Regions from separate parts of the Homo sapiens genome. Here all the other regions are linked to region 1. Evidence: promoter capture Hi-C in 16 types of primary human blood cells and fetal thymus (Javierre and others, 2016). All regions are on one chromosome and are shown on one strand. Each heading gives the region's core, a stretch centred on a gene start or on the middle of the fragment in contact. The rest is flanking DNA. Distances are from core to core; before and after follow the strand shown. Region 1 holds the start of ZNF45 (zinc finger protein 45). Region 2 overlaps ZNF772 (zinc finger protein 772). Region 3 holds the start of ZNF749 (zinc finger protein 749).

Region 1 (4,973 bases), core at 1,696-4,195:
AAAAACAAACAAACCAAAAAACCCAAAAAACTGAACCTTAATAGTGGTCTGATTTGTCTTTAAGGGAGTTTGTTTTAGATCTTGACAATATTATCCACAATTGTTCATCAACTTTTGAATACCCTGAAAAAGTTGATGGATTCTACAGCCCACCAAACGTGAGATAACAGACAAGGACTGTGGATAATCCTTCTATTTTGTTCTCTAATTGCAAGCTGTAGCACCCAAAATCCAGATGCCTGTTGGAGAGCTACATGAATCACTTACTCACTGAATAACTCCTCTTTGCAAACCTCTTGCTGGGTACTCTTGAGAAGAATATGATAATGTCCATGAAACAGAGGTCCCTGAAGTCTAATGGGAGAGAGATAGGAAACCAAGAGTTATATGCCAGTGGCAAGTGCAACTCCAAAAAAGCAAAGAAAATCAATCATCTTTCTTTTCCTAATTGCAACTCTTTCTAGCTTTCTCACATAAGTAGCATTCTCCTAGCTGCCAGGAGTGAAAAACCTCAGAGTTACTGTTAATATCTATTATGGGCTGAATTGTGTGTGCCTCTCTCAAAACGTTAAAGTCCTAACGCTCGGTATCTCAGAAATAACTGTCTTTGGAAATAGGGCCTTTAAAGAGGTGATGAAGTTGACTTACAGCAAGGGAGCTCACGCACACAGAGGGGAGAGGCCTTACAAGCCACCAAAACTGGTGACACCTTGATTTTGGACTTTTAGCCTCCAGAACTGTAACAAATACATTTCTGTATAATCCAGCCAATTTGTAGTATTTTCTTATGGCAGCCCTGGCAAATGAATATAATTGCCCCTCCCTTGGCCTTCATATATAAACGATTAGTGAGGCCTAGCATGGTGGCTCACACCTGGAATCCCAATACTTTGGGAGGCTGAGGTGGGCGGATCACTTGAGGTCGAGTTTGAGACCAGCCTGGCCAACATGGAGAAACCCAGTCTTTACTATAAACACAAAAATTAGCAGGGCGTGGTGACGGGCACCTGTAAAGCCAGAGGCAGGAGAATTGCTTGAACCCAGGAGGCAGAGGTTGCAGTGAGCTGAGATCGTACCACTGCACTCCAGCCTGGGCAACAGAGCAAGATTCCATCTCAAAAAAAACAAAAAACAAAAAACACAATTAATGATAATTATTAGTTTTTAAGCCTTACTGACTCATCATCTGGGTTTGTTTTAAAATACTCAAGGGAAAAAAAGTTGGTGGGAGAGGCAATAAGATTAGCAAGAATGGAAGCAGGGTGACTGTACATAAGAGTTCATTATATTTGGGTATGTTTGGATATTTCCATAGTAAAAAATAAGGGAATAACAACCCACTATGAATAGTGTGATAACAATTTCATAAAACACAGACAAAAACACATTAAAAACTGCTAAACAGAAATGCATTAAAATGTTAATAATTATCTATATCCTAGTATTAAGGAAATTTGTAATATTTTATATTTCTGTATTTTCTACATCCTGTACAGAGAACGTGCATCTCTATGATCAAAATATGAACTACTAATATTGCTTAAAATTAAATGAGAATTCTTTCAAAATTTTCTAAAGTCTAAACTCAACCTTGCTTTCAAAATCTTCTACAGTAAAATTCCAACCTCCCTCCCCAACTTGATCTCAAATGGCTCCTCTGCAGCCAGTTTCCTATGATTATTTATATGGATCATTTATCTATTTTATTTCCTAATTCTAAATTGGGATTTCAAACTGTGAGACCAAGGGTATTCAGATGTAAGGAACCCAAGTCTAGGACACAAATCCCACTGTTCTTACTAGCACTGTGATATAGGAAAGTAAATTAGGCTCTCTCCATTTCCTCATCTGTATAATTGGTGTAATAACAGTACCCATATCACAATACCCACATCACCTTTGTAAGGTGAACAGAACCCACAACACAAGGCCTTTGTGAAGGTTCAGTGTGTTAGTTTTTATAAAGCCCTCAGAGTGATACTCAGCACCCAATGTTTAACTAGTGTGACTAATATTCATGTCACATTTTCTCCAATTATACAATAACGGAACACTTCTGTAGCAGAAACATTTGCAAGGAATGAAATACCTTCTCGCACTCGGAACAGAAGAGGAAGGTGAATGCTAGGTCCTGTCACAGTGGGGCTCTGCTGCCAGAAGCCAGGATGCTCTCCTTCCTCCTCTCCCGCAGCATTCTTTCAGAAGTCAGGGCAGGGGAAGGAAAGGAGGCTGGGAGATTGCACGATCTTGTCTGAGATCCTGGAAAATCCACAGAGGATAACTCCAGACGCCACCTGTTGAGTGATGCACTCTTTCTTAAAAAACGGGTCAGGCATAGTCCAAGAACAGCCTCCTTTCCTGCAGGAATCAGAAAGAAGAGCCAGGCGCTTGCTGAAAAATGAATATTTTTTATTATGATAGTTTTAATATTAACGGCCGACATGTTGCCACATTCCTGTACTATTCCATACACATTTTACTTGTACTATATTACTAATTGTCAAAACAAATATATAAGGTTAATATTTCCTTTTGCAGAAGAGGAAACTAAGACCAGAAACTAAGCACCGAAAGATTAAGTTCTCACCCAACGTTACACCGCTAGGAAGCTACAGAGCTGTGGGAGGTGGGGGAAGGCGGGTCGGGCCGCTGAGAGCCCAGGAGATCCTCAGACGCCTCCCCATTCAGGTCCACTTCCAACCAGGGGACTCCCGAACCGCCCCGAACGCAGCAGCTCCGGATACAGTAAGGCAATCAGCTGCCCAGCCATTCAACTCCGCCCTCCGCTGCTCGCCGCAGCGTCTTTTCCTGCTGACCGAAGTGCGAGCCCTGCTGATCCTACGACCAAACCATAAAAGTTAAAACAGGTCGCGGGGTCCCAGGACTCACTCACTTCCACGAGAGGAATGAAGGCCGCGCTCTCAACCTCTTGCCGCGGAAGTGCCCGGGAGAGCAGGGAGCTCTGGAACTACATTTCCCAGCATCCCCGGGAGGAACGGAAGCCGCTGCCCCGCCCCCTGGGCGGAAGTGCGGGCTTCGACTCCCACGGCCGAATCTTATTTCTCAGAATCCCCAAGGGGAGCGGGCTTCGTGTTCTCGTCCTCAAATAGTCGAAGTACCACCGAACCCACTGAGCACTGGGGTATAGGTTCCTATTTCCCCAGGGGAGCAAATAACAAAGCCGCGCTTTCCCAGAGCTGAAGTGCCCCCAAAAGTCTGGACCACACGTCCCAGAATCCTCTGTAGGGCTGAGCTTCCCGCCAGCCTGCAATTTTCCTTTTGAATTAGCGGGGGGAGTCTAAGTCATTGCTTGTAGAGCTCAGCCTGCTTTTTCCTTTTGCCATTGTTCCCTTTTATACGTGACAGAAGTTGCGAATATGAAAAAAAAAAAGGAAAATACAAAGGAATGCTATGTGTGAGCTAAAAACAGAGGTAATAAAAGAGGTGGCCAGAGCCGCCCAGAGCAACAAGCCTTTTATAATATGGGTATGGATTCATCTGTGATTAAAAATGCTCAAAAAAGGAGATGCAATCATCCAGCAGGACATGAAACAAAAGCAGCAAAATTCTCCACTTTTCTTGCGCTTAGTTTTCTTTCATTCGCAGGATACTGAAGAAAGTATTATAGTATTGAATAGGCTCTATCCTATATAAAATCTTGAAAACATTCAGTTCAGATTAAGGAATCACATCACTTCTTGCTCTCAGAATCAGGAATCTGTAAAGGTGTCTTATGATTTGCCAAAGTGTCTATGAATATTCAGTAAGGAGAGGGAGGTGAAGTGAGGGATTAAGACATGAAGTGCAAAAAATACAGAAAGCTATACTATTCACTTTTCTCCTAGGTAGAAACTAAATATTTTTCCAAGTTTATTATGAAAGGGTAAAGAAGAAAAAATGGAAGTTGACTACATAGGAGTAGCTGTAAACATCTGAACAATGTTCAATTTAGGCTGAGGCAGGAGACCAGCAGGGCGTGATTCCAAGATCAGATAAGAAACCTGCTGAAACCAGCAAGTGATGGAAAGCAACCTGTAAGTTCCCTTTGCTACCTATCAGTATAAGACACTCCCACCAGCGCCGTGACGGTTTATAAATGCCATGGCAACACCTGGAAGTTACCAACCCCTTTTCTAGAGATTTCCGAGTAACTCACCCCTTAATTTGCATGTAATGAAAAGTTGGTATAAATATACCCAGCCAACAGCCCATATGCTGCTACTCTGGGCACACTGCCTGTGGGCTAGTCTTGGTCTGCAAGGAACAGTCACTGAGCTTTTAACACTGTTGATTCGATAAACCTGCTTTCTTCCGCTGCTGGCTTGCTGTTGAATTCTTTCCTGAGCAAAGCCAAGAAACTGCCCTGCATCAATGCCATTTCAAAATCTGGATAAGTACTCTCTCTACTTTAGTAAGAGGAAGAGAGAAATGTAATCACCCAATGGACTCATCTTGCCCACTGCCCAGAGAGAGCCAATTTATCAAGACAGGAATTGCAATAGAGAAAGAGTTTAATACACGTAGAGCTGGCTAAATGGGAGACCAGGGTGAAGACTGAACTCTGCCGTTTTTTCTTTTCTTACTCAAATTCCTATCTAAGGGTCTGGGGAGTCAAGCCCTCCAAACCATAAAGTCTCATGAGAGGGGTTTTAATTTAACCCTATATAATGTGACTTACTTTCCAACCTGTCATAACACCTCATGACGGATAAGAAAGGAAATCAAAATACTTCAACCCCAAATATGTTTCATTGCCCTATCATGAAATAGCCCTGCAAAGTTGTCCTTTGTGGAGAAAAATCTACATTCTGTAGAGAATCTCCTTTCCTTTTTCCAGGCCATTTTTTCTGATCCAGGAGAGAATCAACTAAGAGTCTGACACTTTTTTTTTTTTTTAAGAGTTTTGCTCTTGTCATCCAGGCTGGAGTGCAATTGTGCAATCTTAGCTCACCACAACCCCCGCGTCCTGGGTT
Region 2 (4,973 bases), core at 888-3,387, about 14 Mb after region 1:
GGCTTTGTTCTTGTGTGAGTTCTCTCCTGGATCACTTGCTTTGAAACTATTTCTCTACAATGGAACACTCTTAGCAAAGTACAAATGAAAAGAAATGAACTATGAAACACAGAACACCACCATGAGCCTTAATTTCAGAGTTTAAGAAGCCAAAAACATTAGAATACATATTAAATTACTCTATCTCTGTAGAATTCTAGGAAATACAAACAAATCTACAGTGACAACGGATCAATAGTTGCCTGGGGATGGGTGAAGGAAAGGGAGAAAATATAAAAGGAATCAGGAAACTTTTGGTTTGAGAAGTGCCAACATGTATCAAAACTTATCAAATGGTACACTATAAATATGTGCAGTTTATTGCAAAAATGTTTAGACTGACTTCTGGACAGTAACCTTAGCCATAAGAGACACAGGTATGGAAATATTTCTGTAAACCCTCATAATGGAGCCAGAGTAATGGAAACACATGTGGATGTACCTTTAGAAGGGTCATATTCCCTATAGTTTGCTGCAGTTTTCTCATTCCTTTATTAATCTGGGTTTCTGCACCAACTATGATTCCTACCTGGGCCTTCTGGAGGACAGCCAATATCAACTGCCTACTGAAAAATAGACTTCAGAGATCTTGACATGTCCACTGAGTTCAAATTCTCCTCAAGAAGCCTTGGGAATATGAAGTATCTTCTGGGAACAAGGGACGTAATTCATGTTGCTCCCAGACACATTAGAGATTATCACAACAAATGCCCACTGCTTAGGGTGACCTCAATTACACAAAAAATCTTAACATATAGACCAAAAGATTAGGCCTACAAAGACTGGCATTCTTTCCTAGGAGAGCTGAAGCAGTCAAGTAAGTTAGCTTGACACTAGCATAAGAGCTAGTCTTTGCCATCCTACTATCACTTCAGAGATACAGATAGTTGGAGCTCTCACAAAAGCTGTTCTTCCCTTCATACTGGCTTAGCTCAATTCTGTTCTCAACCCAACCCACAAAGCGAACAGAATCCTCAAGATTTCAGATAGTCTAAAAATTAAGGCATTTGTTGCAAAACCAGAATATGAGGCAGCCAATTTCAGGTCAGGTGTCTTGAAGGCTAGAAAAATTCGTCCCAAGTGCCATGTGAGATCAACTATATCCATGAAGGGAAACCTCTGCCAGTGGTCAGCAGAACAAAGCTCCCATTTTTCTGGCTAAAACTGGGTCATGCTCATGCTTAAACCAGTAGTGGGGCAGAAAAAAAGTGAGAATCCTTGATGGCCTCAGGCTACTGATGATTCCCTCCAGGGAAGGGAATAGTACAGAGGTCTGTCTTTTGAAACACATTGGGGTTACTTTGGCACAAGGCAGGACTCTTCCAGCACAAAGACAGATGGCTTCTAACAGGCACTGCCTTGACGAAATTCCAGCAAGAGTCTAGAAAATTCAGCATAGCTCCAGAAGGCTTCCCATATAGCTGGCACTCGGAAGAACCTCCCCAGGGTGAGTGTTTGAGTGTATAAAGTTCTACTTCTGGCTGTCGGCTACACATAAAGGCTATGCTTGGAGCTTCTCTCTGATGTCAGTTATTATGTTGAACAAGGAAACGGAATTATCTCCCATCCTAAGGCCTTTCTCCAGTGTGAATTTTCCAGTGGCGGATGAGGGAAGCCCTCTGCCTGAAGGCCTTCCCACATTCACTGCACTTATATGGCCTTTCTCCAGTGTGAATTCTATGATGCTGAACAAGTACATGTTTGTGGCTAAAGGCTTTTCCACATTCACTGCACACATAAGGCTTTTCACCATTATGAACTCTTTGATGTGCAATAAGGTCAGAGCTTTGGCTAAAGAACTTCCCACATGCGATGCACTCATAAGGCCTTGCTCCAGTATGAACACTCCAATGTTTAATGAGTCTGTATTTGTGACCAAAGTATTTTCCACATTCGCTGCACTCATATGGCCTTTCTCCAGTATGGATACTCTCATGCTGAACAAGTGTAGATTTGTGACTATAGGCTTTCCCACATTCACTGCACTTGTAAGGCCTTGCTCCAGTGTGTACTCTTTGATGTACAATAAGGTTAGAGCTATGATTAAAAACTTTCCCACATATGCCACACTCATAAGGCATTTCTCCAGTGTGGATTCTCTGGTGCTGAGCAAGTATGGGTTTGCGGCTAAAGGTTTTCCCACATTCACCGCACTCATAAGGCCTTTCTCCAGTGTGGACTCTCTGGTGTTGAACAAGTGAGTCTTTGCGGCTGAAGGTTTTCCCACATTCACTGCATTTGTAATGCCTTTTTCCACAGTGAGAGGCCTCCTCACACTTGGTGTTGCTGTGTGGCTTCCACTCATTGTGAGGGGCATGGTGCTCGAAAATGCTTGAGCTGGCTAGGAAGTCCTTACAAGCCTCCCCTGTCACAAAAGACATCTCCATTGATTGCACAGCACAGTTGTTCAGAAGAAAGGGCCTGCTCTTATCACTTCTAAAGGGTTTCTCTCCACTGTGCTGCTTCTGGTGCTGGTGAAGGTTTGCACTGAAGCAGAACTGTTTCCCACACAGCACACACATGTATGGTTTCTGCCCTGGGTGTGTTTCCTGGTGCTCAGCCAAGTGCAAAATGTCTTTTAAGACCAGGCCACATGTCCCACAGGGGTAAGCCTTCTGAGTAGAAGGACCTCCCTTGGGAATCCTGATCTGTGACATTCCTATAGAAAAGCTCTGCTCAAAAGGTATCTCTTCATCCTCCATTCCATGCCAACAACCTGAAAGCAGAGAAATGCTGGTGAAGTACAAATTGACACAGGTGGAAGAGGGGAAGCCTCACTACAAATATGTGTCTAACACAACTAAGACCAAGGTCATAGGACTGTTGTTAGGACAAGGGTCCAAACTCAAGTTCAGCAAATGTGTACTATACGGTAGTTGGCATCTAAATGTCATAGAATGGAGAAGGCCTCAACTGGGAGAGGACAAAGATGTGGGGTACAGCACAAAAAAGAGGCAGGTCTCAAAGTCATTCACAATCAGATTTTCTTGGCTGCTGGGGACAGGTGAGAGTTGTGCAGAAGGTTATGGTCCATACCAAAGAAAATCAAATTGCTACTCAGTAGTTGGTGTTTAAGGACTATTTGGGCTACACATCTCATGAAACACTAAGTACAGGCCAATGCTGGAAGGCACTGTAGAACAAGCCATGGAGAGGAACAGGTGAGACATGAAGGCAGAGGTATGGAACATCCAGAGGCCAAAGGCCAGAGTATGAAAGGCCAGTGGCCTTAGCACTAATACAACTGTAGGCACAAAGAGGCTATGGAATGATATGAACCCAGCCCTGACATCACACCTTTCCCCAGCTCCTACTCACCAGGGTCACTCCCACCTGGAGTCTCTGTGGCAACAGCTAGGGTCATGTCCACCCAGTCAGGTACCCAGGGCTCACTACCCATCACCAGTGAGGCAACTATGTGGGACATGAAAGATGTATGTCCTAAGGGAAAGATAGAACAGCACTGGTCTGGGTAACCCATATAGAAAACTAAATATTATTAAAATAATCTCAGAGTAAGGTCTTGCAGGAATAGTGCAGTGGTCCTAGCAAGTAGCGACCATAATGGTCCCTACAATTCCTGACATAGGCAGGCCACAGGAAATGTCAGCTAAAGGAAGAGCGCAGAATCCCAGGCACAGAGGTGTCATGGATACAGACAGAGGAATTCAGACAGGGAAAGGACAAGATGGATATGACCCACTGGGCTGACAATACAATGCATAACTCCTGAATCCATGCCTGCAAGGCTCTGAGACAGCAAGCGCTGGGAATGCTCAAAAGGAGAAAGTAGGAGTGCAAACAGCCCAAGCCCAGCACTCACAGAACCTACTCCAGGCACTAAGAAATGAGACAGTGTCCACGGCTCTGATGTAGGAAGGACAAAGATGCCCTGAAAAAAAGGGGAAGGGCAGGACCCAGTCCAAGTCACTGGGGTGGATGTGACGGCCTTACCCAGAGAGGCCATAAGTGCAAAGTTCTCCAGCATCACATCACGGTACAGGAGCCTCTGAGCCTCATCAAGGAGCACCCACTCCTCCTGGGAGAAGTACACGAACACGTCCTCAAAGTTCACCTGCCCCTGCCACAATCAGGAGAGCCAAGTCCATGAGCAGCATCTCTCCCAAGAACCCCCATCCGTGCCCCCACACATCTCCCTCCTGTACACCCTCCTACCTAACTCCTCAACTCAGGAAATATCAGGACCAGATGTCATTGGTGTCTTCTCTCGCCTCATGGTCCCAATGGATCACTGTGTCTACCCATAGCAACCACAGGCAGGTGAAGAAGTTGTCACCCTCTAAGCTCTGTGCTTAGCATACAGGGCCTCACCCTTCTGTAAGCAAATTCCTCTGGGGTCACTAACATCATGCTTACCAGACAACCAAAGATGGGCTTGCCTTTCTCCTTTAAGCCCAGACGTCATCAGTCTACACTTCTTTCCATATGTACATCACTCTTTGGATCACAGTTATCTCACAACTCTGGCTCTCCACCATCACTTTCCTGGCTCACTAAATGCACTACCACTGTGAAATGAATATTCTCTTTTAACTCCCAATCTACATAATCATCTTTAAGCCATTTCAGGATGATTCCCGCCCCCTTGCTCTTGGTTCCCACCAGACATGACAGAGACCTGCAATTTCTTGAAAACTCCCTTCTCAGTCTCACCTCTAAGTATTTTGCACAGGCTGGTTCCTGTGCCTGGAACAACCTTCCAACCTTATTCCAATGGTTGGCAGAAATGGAAACCCCTCCATAAAACCCCTGGCCCGGAGTCAGGACCCTGGGCTTGGGGCTTCTCCAGAGTCCTCAGACCCAAGAGATCGGAGAGTAGCAGGAGAGTGTTCTATATAACACCACAATGCTGGAGAGCGTATTGGGTGGGGGTGGGATCGGTGAGAGCATGGACATTCTCCCCTCACCTGTAT
Region 3 (4,973 bases), core at 1,498-3,997, about 14 Mb after region 1:
AAAAAAAGGTGGGGGGGACTAAACAGAGTCTAAATAGCCAAGAAACCCAGTGCAAAGACAGTAGTGTTCAAACTTGTTGCTAACTTAACATGTCATCATGGATTTGACAAGGTGTGAAGAGCAAAGCATAAAGGACCTCTGTGGTTACTATACCTGTTTGATGACTATGGCCCATGGTGATGAACAGGTTAGACGTTATTTCACTGGGACCTCTGTAAGTATGATACATTGTAACATAATTTCTACAATGGTCACATCTAATTATATCAATCCTTTGTTCACTGCACCTTCATTAGTAAGAAGTATGCTTAATGGTAGCATTCATGGACTGCAAACAGACAACTTGGAAATAAATGAAGACCCAAATGAGAACAAACATAGCCTATTAAATCAGACCACACCGTAGTAAAGGAGTCATCCACAATCTCTTGCACTCAGCAGAGCTTGAAAGGCAAGCAGAGGTGTAAAAAGCTTCATAGTAGATAAAAGGTAAAGTATTAGGTATGCCATGACTGGAGGCTATAGTCTTGAGGAGTGTGTGTGTGTGTGTGTGTGTGTGTGTGTGTGTGTGTGTGTGAAGGGGTTATTTAGAAGGTTGACATCCTATGTGATTGGCTAGTGATGCACTGACTTTCTCCAGTTGGTCCTAAGTTGAACATATGGGCAACAATTAGAAAGCTGTCAGTTCTTAGTCATGTCTTAGCCATTTTAAGCGAGTTGTTATGTGGGATGTTGTCTGGCTTCCTGGCCTTGTTGCTAGACATAGTATTCTGACTTGGGAGTGGTTACTGTAGATACCACATTAGATTTCTGAATGGGTTGGTGTAGATTATGGGTCAGAGTCAATTTTTATATTTGGTGTAGCCGTTGTCCATTTGTATAGCAAATTTCTCACACCTAAATAAGGAACTATCCACGTTAGTGGGATTTCTTATTTTTAACTGGTTATGTTGAAAATTAGTTTAATATTCATTAATTTCCCACAACCCTTTCAAAGGTTTGTTTTTGCCAGACCTTCAGTTGGGCAGAGTTAATTTTTCCTTTTTTTTTTTTTTTTAAACTGGTTGGCAAACTAAATTGTAACGCTTTGGCCAAAAAATAGCCCTTTCCTTTTCTGAATATAAAGAGAATGGGTTTTAATTTTTGGTCTTTTCTTTGTTCTTCCTTCACTAATCCTGCAGAAGAGACCATAAGGCATTATCCAAATCTTCATTTGTTGGGGGCATGGTTTTCAGGTAGTATTGCCACCACCTGATGGCAATACTATTGCTACTCAATTTTTCTCTCACTGCTACTCAATTGCAGTGAGAGAAAAATAGCTCTAAATGCCGACTTTTTGTAGTGCATTGTAAAAAGCTGAATAAAGCCAGGGACGGTGTCCTGTACCTACAGTCCCAGCTGCTCTAGAGGCTGAGGTGGGAAGATAGCTTTAGCTCAGGAGCTGAGGCCTTATCATAAGGCCTTATAAGACTACCTGGAGGCTTCATCTGCATGATATAACCTTGGTCTTCACAACCCCTTGTCTTTTTTTGTTTTTGAGACGGAGTTTCGCTCTTGTTGCACGGGCTGGAGTACAATGGCGAGATCTCGGCTCACCGTAACCTCCGCCTCCCGGGTTCAAGCGATTCTCCTGCCTCAGCCTCCCGAGTAGCTGGCATTACAGGCATGTGCCACCATGCCCGTCTAATTTTGTATTTTTAGTAGAGATGGGGTTTCTACATGTTGGTCAGGCTGGTCTCGAACTCCCAACCTCAGGTGATCCGCCCACCTCGGCCTCCCAAAGTGCTGGGATTACAGGCGTGAGATACCACGCCCGGCCCACAACCCCTTAACCCAGACAACCATTTCTACTGATTCCAGGTCTTTAGATACAAACTCTTTCAACCAATTGCCAATCGGAAAATCTTTGAACCCACCTGACCTGGAAGCCCCGCCCCTCCCTTCCAGTTGCGCCTTTCCAGAGGAATCCAATGTACATTTTACATGTATTGATTGATGTCTTACGTCTTCCTAAATTGTTAAAACCAAGCTGTAGATGGGCCACCCTGGGCATATGTTCTTAGGATATCTTGGAGCCGTGTCATGGGCCATTAGTCACTCATATTTGTCTCAGAATAAATCTCTTCAACTATTTCACAAAGTTCCACCCTTTTCGTCGACAGAAAGATATTCCTCCTTCAACTCTCCATCACATCCTGTGTGGGTCTTTTCTTTCTTGTCCCAACAGAAGCACACTAACGATCAAAAAAAAGTCTCCAGAGCCTCAGTATGTGTGTACTTGACAAGCACAAAAGAGCTGACCGCTATGAATGGAGGACCAGTTCATTATGGTCAGCCATGTCGCTTCTGATGTTCTTCCTTTCGGGACTTGCTGTGCTTCAGAGAATCTGAAACGACAGGTCTCTGAAATATTTCTCAGACTTGTCCTAGACTGCTCTCCGGGAAAATCTGGTTACTTGCAGTTTAGGAGTCAGCAAAGCCCCTCCACGTCCTTAAGAGCCCCGGAACTGCATTTCTTAACGCTCCTCCAGGAGCCTCCAGCTTTTTTCCGTAAGGTCCGCGCGCCCAGCATTGTGAGGCGAGGCAGGCAGCAGCGTGGGAACTACATTACCCAGAAGACACTGCGGGCGACACAGGCAGCAACGTGAGAACTACATTACCCAGAAGACACTGCGGGGGCAGGGCAGCGAGTGTAGCCATTGGTCTAGCAGAGAGACGACTAATGAGGTCTCAATTGTGTGGGCGGGACTTCTGGCGGCGCCCTCATGGTTGCGTTAGCATGGCTACCTAGGGATCTGTTCACTGATTTAGAGGGTCCCAGAGCTCTGGGTCGGGACTGAGGTGAAAGAGCGGAAAAACGCGAGAAGCGGTGTTCCTTCTACACAGAGGCTAGAGTGCGGATCGGCTGAGTCGGCTGCAGGCGCCCCTGCCTCCGTCAGCGTCCAGGTGACCGCCGTTCCCGCCCCGCTCTTCCCTGGGTGGACTGGAGGAGGCCGCGCCGATGAACCTGACCGAGGTGCGTGCAGCGTCCCAGGCCGCCCCGCCCAACCCCTCCTCCCAGTGCTGAAGTCCCAAGGAGCCGCCCTGCAGGTTAGGCCCTTGTGTCTCTAAGAGAGGGGCGTTCTTGTGTGGGGTGCCCGGGACTGGGACTGCGGTGCGATGAGGCGGGGGAGCTCCCGTCGGAGACCGACACGTCTCTGGGGCTTGGAGGCACTGCAGAACGGGCGGCACTGGGGAGCCCGAGCGTCTTTGTCTCCAAGGAGCAGAGGTTGAGGCGGAGTCTCCCCTGGAAGGGCAGTGGAGCCGCAGAGAGCCATAGAGGGCTGTGCAGGGAGGACGAATGGGAGGGTCACGCCCAGAGTTAGAAGTTTAAAGTTGGGGAAAACAGGATGTTGAACGGGGGCAGGGGGACCGCTGAGGAGACCCCTTGAGTTATGGTAGGGCTGGGCCAGAGGGGTTGCAGTAGAGGGGAGATGTGATGAGACTCTGGATGGATCTCAGAGATAGGGTCAACAGGATTTCCTGCTGCATCAAACATAGCTGTGAGGGAAAGTCGGTAGTGAATGGTGTCTTCCATAGGTTTTGTTTTGGCCTGAAAAATCTGAAAGAATGGAATTAGAGATATCAGCTTAAGGAGCGGGTTTCAGACAGAAGATCCTGGGTTGGATTTTGGGCGACATCACATGGGTAGGTGGACGTAATTTCCAAAGGTGAGGGAAGGTAGCTGGCCTGGAGCTTTAAATGAGTTAGAAGTTGTGCACTTGAGAAGTTGGCCTGTGGATCAGATTGAGAAGGAAGAATCCTACATCGTTTTTTCATATGGGCTGAGGTAGGGGAGGGCTCAGATTTGGAGGAAAGACCATGGTAGGGAGGGCATCTCTGATACTCCCTGCAGAAGGGAGCAGATATGGGCTAAGAGTCTGGTCTGTTTCTGTTGAAAAAGAGGCCTGGATGGATAAGGAGTTGCCCTGGAATACAGAGACTGAGGCATGAGATAATTGTAGTCACTCCACCCTTCTAACTCAGCTGGCCCTGAGGGCCACTCTTTAGGGAACAAGATAAGGCCATGCAGCAACTGGGTCCAAAACTGGGCAGGGCTTTCTCACATCCTCCACCACAGTTAAGGGCCTCCAGCAAGCTCCCTTTACTGCATTATATGGCAGGCTGACCTGTTTGCTGAACGGACCAGTAACTGATTGACTGCTCAGCCCCATCCTACAACTCATTAACTTAGGGATGTAAAAACAGGTAATTGACTTAAACAGTAAGGAACTATATCAATCTTAAATAACCAAGCAAGTCAGAATCTAGTTTAAAGAGAGTTTATTCAAGTTCACATGTTGATGATAGCCATCTGGGACCATAGATTCAAGTTGTCCTGAATATACACTTCAATTACCACAGTGACAAGTGTTTGCTTTTTTTTTAAGGAAAAAAGAAGCAGTTTCTGAGTTGTTTACCAATAACTTATGTTAAAATAAGATAAGTTTTTATTGGCTATACATTCTTATTTATATTATAGATTACAGAAACATGAAGATAATAGGTGAGACAGCTAGTCAGGAACAGAATGTCTTAAAACAGTTGTCCTCAGGCATAGGTTCAGGGATGTGACTGACATCTCATATATTCTTGCCTCTCTGAGCCTGATACATTTTGTGTAGGTCAGACAGGTCTGGGCTATTTTTTTTTTTCCTCAGCCAATATCCTTCTAAATATGTACACATAGGCAATTGGAAATAGATGTAATCAATAATTTAAATGTATTAAAATATTTATTGTTAGAATGTTAATTTACCTGTAACTCTGCTTATAGTACAAAGCTTTATATATATATCACATTTCCTTAAAACATTAAGAAGTGTGGGCTGGGCACAGTGGCTCATGCCTGTAATCCCAGCACTTTGGGAAGCGAAGGTGGGCGGATCACGAGGTCAGGAGTTTGAGACCAGCCTGGCCAACATGGTGAAACT

The links. Contacts are between HindIII fragments. The CHiCAGO score rates a contact against its expected background, and 5 or more counts as called.
Region 2: a fragment that was not itself captured here is called in contact with the fragment with the promoter of ZNF45 in region 1 in 4 of 17 cell types (non-activated CD4 T cells, activated CD4 T cells, naive CD8 T cells and 1 more); the score reaches 16.8 in non-activated CD4 T cells.
Region 3: the fragment with the promoter of ZNF749 here is called in contact with the fragment with the promoter of ZNF45 in region 1 in 4 of 17 cell types (activated CD4 T cells, naive CD8 T cells, total CD4 T cells and 1 more); the score reaches 7.7 in activated CD4 T cells.

Annotation. Positions count from the first base shown.
Region 1 is chr19:43,932,337-43,937,309 of GRCh38, forward strand. It overlaps ZNF45 (zinc finger protein 45), which reads right to left and starts at 2,946. Exons shown (of 10, transcript NM_003425.4): 1 at 2,588-2,946; 2 at 2,090-2,358; 3 at 268-354. ZNF45-AS1 (ZNF45 antisense RNA 1) reads left to right here. Exons shown (of 3, transcript NR_184050.1): 3 at 1-3,478. The HindIII fragment of the contact is 8,828 bases long and covers 1-4,973 here.
Region 2 is chr19:57,471,667-57,476,639 of GRCh38, forward strand. It overlaps ZNF772 (zinc finger protein 772), which reads right to left. Exons shown (of 4, transcript NM_001144068.2): 2 at 4,968-4,973; 3 at 3,994-4,120; 4 at 1-2,755. The coding sequence ends at 1,608. Among named protein-coding and RNA genes, the nearest start is that of ZNF772, 3.4 kb to the right of the region's middle. The HindIII fragment of the contact is 6,834 bases long and covers 1-4,973 here.
Region 3 is chr19:57,432,578-57,437,550 of GRCh38, forward strand. It overlaps ZNF749 (zinc finger protein 749), which reads left to right and starts at 2,748. Exons shown (of 3, transcript NM_001023561.4): 1 at 2,748-3,016. The coding sequence starts at 3,002. RefSeq lists enhancers at 2,333-2,632, 3,263-3,312. The HindIII fragment of the contact is 4,352 bases long and covers 470-4,821 here.